Linked DNA regions of Homo sapiens: region 1 is linked to region 2. The links are contacts of gene promoters, found by promoter capture Hi-C in blood cells and fetal thymus (Javierre and others, 2016). All regions are on one chromosome and are shown on one strand. Each heading gives the region's core, a stretch centred on a gene start or on the middle of the fragment in contact. The rest is flanking DNA. Distances are from core to core; before and after follow the strand shown.

Region 1 (3,375 bases), core at 197-2,696, 720 kb before region 2:
ACTTCACTAAGCCCAACATTCTTCATCCTCAAAGTACAGCTTACTGCAAGGGAGGCAGTATTGTATATTGGTTAAGAGGTAAAGCTCTGCAGCCAGACTGCCTGAGTTTAGCCAGGTGACCTTGGACAAGTGATTTAGTCTCTCTATTCCTCAGTTTCCTCATTTATAAAATGGGGACAATAGTTTTATCTATTTCATTGGTTTGGGCATGGATTAAGTGATGAAAGTGCATAAAATAGTGCCTGGCACGTTGTAACTAGTCAATAAATGCCAACTATTCCTATTGCTGTTATTATTGTTTGTTATTGTTATAGCTTTCTCATTGAGCTGTTGAAAATTAAAATAAAATGTTTGAAAAGTAGCTAGCACAGTGTCTAACACCTAGTAATCGCTTACTAAAGGCAGCAAATGAAACTAAATGAATCTAGCATTCTTGAGTTTCTCTCACCAAACTCCTGACCCTGGCCTTAATAGAGGGCACTTCTAAGAAGATAAGATGGACATATTACAATTCTTCTCATGGCTCTCCAATGGCTTTTTGTTTCACTCAAAAGCCAAAGTTCTTAGGGTGACCTACATGTCCCTAAGTGATCTGGTCTCATCTTCTCTCCTGACCCCATGACCTGCCACTGTGTGCCTCACTTATCTTCCTCTGCCACATCAGCTCTGGACTGTTCTTTAAACATTTCAGGCATACACCTTTCTCCAGTCTTGGCTGTTCTCTCTGCCTGGAATGCGTATCTTCCCTCAGATTACATATCAAAGCATAAAGGACTTAGCAAAAGCAGTTTTTAGAGAAAAATAGCCTTAAATGTTTGTGTTAAGAAAGAATGAGTAAGTTGTGCATGCAACTTCAAAAGTCTGCAAAAGGGCCGGGCGCGGTGGCTTACGCCTGTAATCCCAGCACTTTGGGAGGCTGAGGCGGGTGGACCACAAGGTCAGGAGATCAAGACCATCCTGGCTAACACAGTGAAACCCCATCTGTACTAAAAGTACAAAAAATTAGCCGGGCGTGGTGGTGGGTGCCTGTAGTCCCAGCGACTCAGGAGGCTGAGGCAGGAGAATGGTATGAACCTGGGAGGTGGAGCTTGCAGTGAGCCAAGATCACACCACTGCACTCCAACCTAGGCAACAGAGCGAGACTTCATCTCAAAAAAAAAAAAAAGGAACAAGACAAAATAAATTGTAAGGAAGAATATGATAAAGTTAAGAGCAAAATTCATGGTCTCAAAAACAGAAGTACAATAAATAGAATCTATAATGTTAAAAGTTGGTTCTTTGAAAAGACTTAAAATAGACAGAACAGGTTGGGTTCAGTGGCTCACACCTATAATCCAGCCCTTTGGGAGTCCAAGTCAGGAGGATTGATTGAGCCCAGGAGTTCAAGACCAGTCTGGGCAACATAGTGAGACCCCGTCTTTACCAAAAATAAAAAAAATTAGCCAGACATGGTGGGGTGTGCCTGTAGTCCCAGCTACTAAGGAGGCTGAGGTGGAAGGATGACTTGAGCCCAGGAAGTCAAGGCTACAGTAGGCCTTGATTCTGCCACTGCACTCCAGCTTGGGTGACAGAGTGAGACCCTATCTCAATAGTAATAATAATAATAATAAGATAGTCACAACTAACTCAGTTGAAACTATTCCAAAAAAGTGAGGAAGGACTCCTCTATAATTCATTCTACAAACCAGCATCAATCTGATACCAAAACCTGGCAAAGAAACAACAAAAAAAGAAAACTACAAGCCAATATCCCTGATGAACATAGATGCAAATATCCTCAGCAAAATACTAGCAAACCAATCCAACAGCTCGTTAAATAGTTAATTCACCATGATCAAGTAGGCTTCATTCCTGAGATACAAGGTTGCTTCAACAAATGCAAATCAATCAATGTGATTCACCACATAAACAGAATTAAATCCAACCATATGATCATCTCAATAGACATGGAAAAAACTTTTGATAAAATCCAACATTTCTTCATGATGAAAACCTTCAACAAACTAGGCATTGAAGGAATATAACTCAAAATAATAAGAGCCATTTATGACAACCCACAGCCAACATCATACCAAATGGGCAAAAACTGAAAGGATTTCCTTTTAAGAAATGGAATAAGACAAGGATGACCACTCTCGCCCCTCCTGTTCAACACAGTATTGGAATGGACAGCCAGAACAATCAGGCAAAAGAAAGAAACAAAAGGCATATAAGTAGAAAAAGAAAAAGTCAAACTATATCTCTTCAAGGACTATATGATTCTATACCTAGAAAACCCTAAAGACTCCACCAAAAGACTCCTGGAAATAATAAACATTTTCAGTAAAGTTTCAGGATATAAAATCAATGTACAAAAACCAGTAGCATTTCTATACACCAAAAACATTCAAGCTAAGAACCAAATGGAGGATGCAATCCCCAGTTACAATAGTGACAGAAAAAAAATAAAATACCTAGGAATACATTCAACCAAGGAGATAGAAGATCTCTACATCAGAATTACAAAACACTGCTAGAAGAAATCATACATGACACAAATGGAAAAACATTTCATGCTTATGGATTGGAAGAATCAATATCATTAAAATGGACATACTACCCAAAGCAATTTACAGATTCAATGCTATTCCTATCAAACTGCAAACATTATTTTTCACAGAACTAGAAAAAACTATTCTAAAATTCCTGTGGAACCAAAAAAGAGCCTAAATAGCCAAAGCAATCCTAAGCAAAAAGAACAAAGTGGAAGGCATCACATTACCTGACTTCAAACTATACCATAAGGCTATAGTAACCAAAACAGCACGGTACTGGTACAAAAATAGACACATAGACCAAGGAAACAGAGCAGAGAACGCAGAAATAAAGCTGCACACCTACAGCCATTTGATCTTTGACAAAGTTGGCAGAAATAAGCAATGGGGAAAGGACTCCTTATTCAGTAAATGGTGCTGGGGTAGCTAGCTAGCCATATCCTGAAGAATGAAACTGGACCCCTACCTGTCACCATATACAAAAATAAATTTGAGATGGATGAAAGATTTAAATGTAAGACCTCAAGCCATAATACTCTTTGAAGAGGCCGATTGTGGTGGCTCATGCTTGCAATCCCAGAACTTTGGGAGGCCAAGGAAGGTGGATCACTTGAGTCCAGGAGTTCGAGACCAGCCTGAGCAACATGGTGAAACCCCATCTCTACAAAAAATACAAAAATTAACCAGACATGGTGTTGCACGCCTGTAGTCCCAGCTACTAGAGAGACTAAGGTGGGAGGATTGCTTGAGTCCAGGAAGTTGAGGCTGCAGTGAGCCATGATCACGCCATGTACTCCAGTCTGAGCAACAGAGTGAGACCCTATCTCAAAAAAAAAAAAAA
Region 2 (3,115 bases), core at 347-2,846:
ACTATCATCACTATTTGTTTTCACCTTCCATATATCTGGATAAGGTGGAGTCTAAATCCTTCTCCTATCATAACTCTCATTCTTCAACAAGGGATGTTTGCCAGTCCCCTCAAAACCAGTCAATAGACTATGGGCATAATTCAGAGTTCCCACAACAAATCACGTCTCCCATATTCCAAAACAAGAATGTCCTTGTTTCAGTATGCTTCACTTTTGGTAAATGCCAGTCAAAACAAAATAGGAAGTAGACTACAACTATGATGGAGAGTGGCAGATGAAGGGGGTCAGGGGACTGATCTGCACTGGATATTGTCTAGAAGAATAAATTCCTTAAGAAATAAAATAATGCAAATAATACTGAACATTCAGAAGCATGAAATCTGATGCTGATCGCTTTGGTTTATTCTTTATAGTTCTGTGGAACTATAAGGACATGCTCTCTTCCTATGAGCATTTTGCTCCTCTGGTTTTTATTTTCCCATCTCATATATATCCTAAAGTAATATACATATATACAAATATAAAGTGTTTGATAGTACATTTATATGCATAATTATCAAACAAAATTGTATGCTTTGTTCTCAATTGTAAAAGGTCAATTCGTATATATTTAAAAATCTTTCCTTCCCATTCCAGCAAAGTTGCATTCTTAAAAACTGTAAGTCGAAAAAAATTTTTTTTTCTTTTTTGAGATTCAGTCTGGCTGTCACCCAGGCTGGAATGCAGTGGTGTGATCTTGGATTATTGCCACCTCCACCTCCTGGGTTCAAGCGATTCTCCTGCCTCAGCCTCCCGAGTAGCTGGGGTTACAGGCTCGCACCACCACGATTTTCTTAATTTTAGTAGCTCGCGCCACGGCTGATTTTCTTATTTTTAGTAGAGAGAGGGTTTCATCATGTTGGCCAGGCTGGTCTCGAGCTCCTGACCTCAAGTGATCCGCCCGCCTCGGCCTCCCAAAGTGCTGGGATTACAGGCGTGAGCCACCGCGCCGGGCCTCAAGTCTAAATTTTTAAAAGAAAGTTTCTTCCAACCGCATTCACGAGAAGTGCTTCTCTTTCATGAAATAACAATTAGAACACAACTAGTGAAACCTTTGGGACTTCAATCACTACTTTTTCTAAACTACCACTTTCCAGCAGGAAGACGGAGCGGTAGCTTGGGGTAAAAATTAAAACCTAGCATTACCATGAGTTAAGATCGAGATAAATAGATCAAAATAAATGGGTCACTGCTGGCGCTTTACTTAGAAAAATAAAAAATTTCTCATCACTAGAACTCATAATCGCTCCGCAAGGAGGGCAAAACTGGGTTTATTAAAGTGAAAGCTGGAGAATCCAGGGGACACAAGCAGAAAGCTGTCAAAGAGGGGAGGGGCCGGGTTCCAGCACCGACAGGACCAGGATACTTATTTCCGACTCTTGAGAGAGTAGGGCGATACCACACCTCCGCGGCTCCAGCGTGTTCACCACAAAATCTTTTCCCTGCGGCCACCACCATCCTGCAGAACCGTTTCTTCTTTTCCACATAGTAACCGCATCTACCCTCAGCTGGAAAACCAGGCGCGTGCGGCGACGTCGCGGAGGTCGCCATAATTCTAGGGCTCGCTTCCGGTGTCCAGCATCCGGCAACCAGAAGAAAAGTTAGAAGCTTCCTTCGGGTCTCCTTCCCTTAACAAACATGGCTGCCTCAGCCCCCGCGCCACACAGGTTAATACCCGGAACTACCACAACCGTCTTCCCTTTATCCTCCGCAGAACCGGAAGAATCCGATGGTGGCTGGCGAGGGCCAAGTCTCTTACGCCTTCCCCTCGTTTCTCCCTCCCCGCCTCCTCCGCAGAAGCCGAGCGCCAAACTCAAACTTTATCAGGACCCGGACCTCTCAGGCTAATCCCGAGGGCCGGGCCTGTTGGGCTTTTCTGCACACCAGCCGAGGCAGCGAGCCAACATGAGCCAAGTGCTGTTCCACCAACTAGTCCCGTTGCAGGTGAAATGCAAAGACTGTGAGGAGAGGTAAGGTCCGCGTCATCCAGTGCCCGCGGGTGGCGGTTGGGGTCAGGCCAATGGGGAAAGATGGCGGTTCTGGCCCGTGGGATCCACCTTGCACCTAGGTGTCGAGTCGGCCCCCCTAGGAAGCGGATAGGGAACCCAGAGGGCCCGGTGGTTACCTCTCTCACCAAGTCGGCCGTTGCAGAGGGGACTGGAGGAAGGGTGTGAGGAGTTAGGAAGCCGGCTCACATCAAGTTAATGTCAAAAACCCTACCTGTGCACGGAATCGTGAAGATTATAGCCCTACTCTTCCCTTTTGACAGATAAGAACTCTGGCCCAGAGAAGTTAAAAAAATTTACGTGAGGGCTCACAGCCAGTTCATGGCAGGGTCAGGACTAGAACTCAGGCCTTGGCTCCGAGCCTTTCCCCCTCGTTCTCTTTTGAAGTATGTTGGCAGTAAAGTTCAACTTTTAAAAACCTACCAATTTGGTGGCGTACTTTGGCTCTTCACATCAGTTGCTTTAAAAAAGTAAATTACATTTAACCGACTAAAAATGAGAAAAGCAGAAACGTCATTAATTCATTCAATAAATATTGCCTCCTTGTAAAACACCTTACTGGGCACTGGGAATACAGTGGTCAGGAAAAACAGTCCTTTTCTTCATGGAGTTTACAATCACTGGAGGAAATAAAGACCAGTCGCACAGAGAAGTGCAACTTTGATTAAGGAGGTGGTATTATTGGGGCGTAAATAGATTTGACCAGAGGTCAGGAGACTTACTTTTTTTTTCTCAGTTCTAACACTCAATGGTTGTCTCTTTTTTTCTCTGAACGTTCTTTCCTCATTTGTAAAACTGATATAACATGCGTATTCACGTGTTTGTAATGAGGATCAGGTGTGAAATCTTTTGCGTATTCACGTGTTTGTAATGAGGATCAGGTGTGAAATCGTATGTGAAAACTAAGTGGTGTACAAATGTAACATAAAAAATGAAGACATTGCCTTATTGAGTTGCCAGTAATGTCAAACTGTAGTATATATAGTTCAGAATTCGGTCAAAAATCAATGGCAAGCCGGTCAAGGAGATGGTCCCAAAACCAGCAGCTGCATATGGAGATCTGTAGGTTT

The links. Contacts are between HindIII fragments. The CHiCAGO score rates a contact against its expected background, and 5 or more counts as called.
Region 1: a fragment that was not itself captured here is called in contact with the fragment with the promoter of TRMT13 in region 2 in 2 of 17 cell types (monocytes and naive CD8 T cells); the score reaches 5.6 in monocytes.

What each region holds. Positions count from the first base shown.
Region 1 is chr1:100,855,753-100,859,127 of GRCh38, reverse strand. No RefSeq gene overlaps it. Among named protein-coding and RNA genes, the nearest start is that of EXTL2, 37 kb to the left of the region's middle. The HindIII fragment of the contact is 6,930 bases long and covers 1-3,375 here.
Region 2 is chr1:100,131,644-100,134,758 of GRCh38, reverse strand. TRMT13 (tRNA methyltransferase 13) reads right to left here and starts at 1,596. Exons shown (of 11, transcript NM_019083.3): 1 at 1,444-1,596. The coding sequence starts at 1,590. SASS6 (SAS-6 centriolar assembly protein) reads left to right here and starts at 1,829. Exons shown (of 17, transcript NM_194292.3): 1 at 1,829-2,009. The coding sequence starts at 1,945. RefSeq lists enhancers at 1,382-1,911, 1,922-2,041, 1,446-2,048 and a silencer at 2,044-2,207. The HindIII fragment of the contact is 8,975 bases long and covers 1-1,649 here.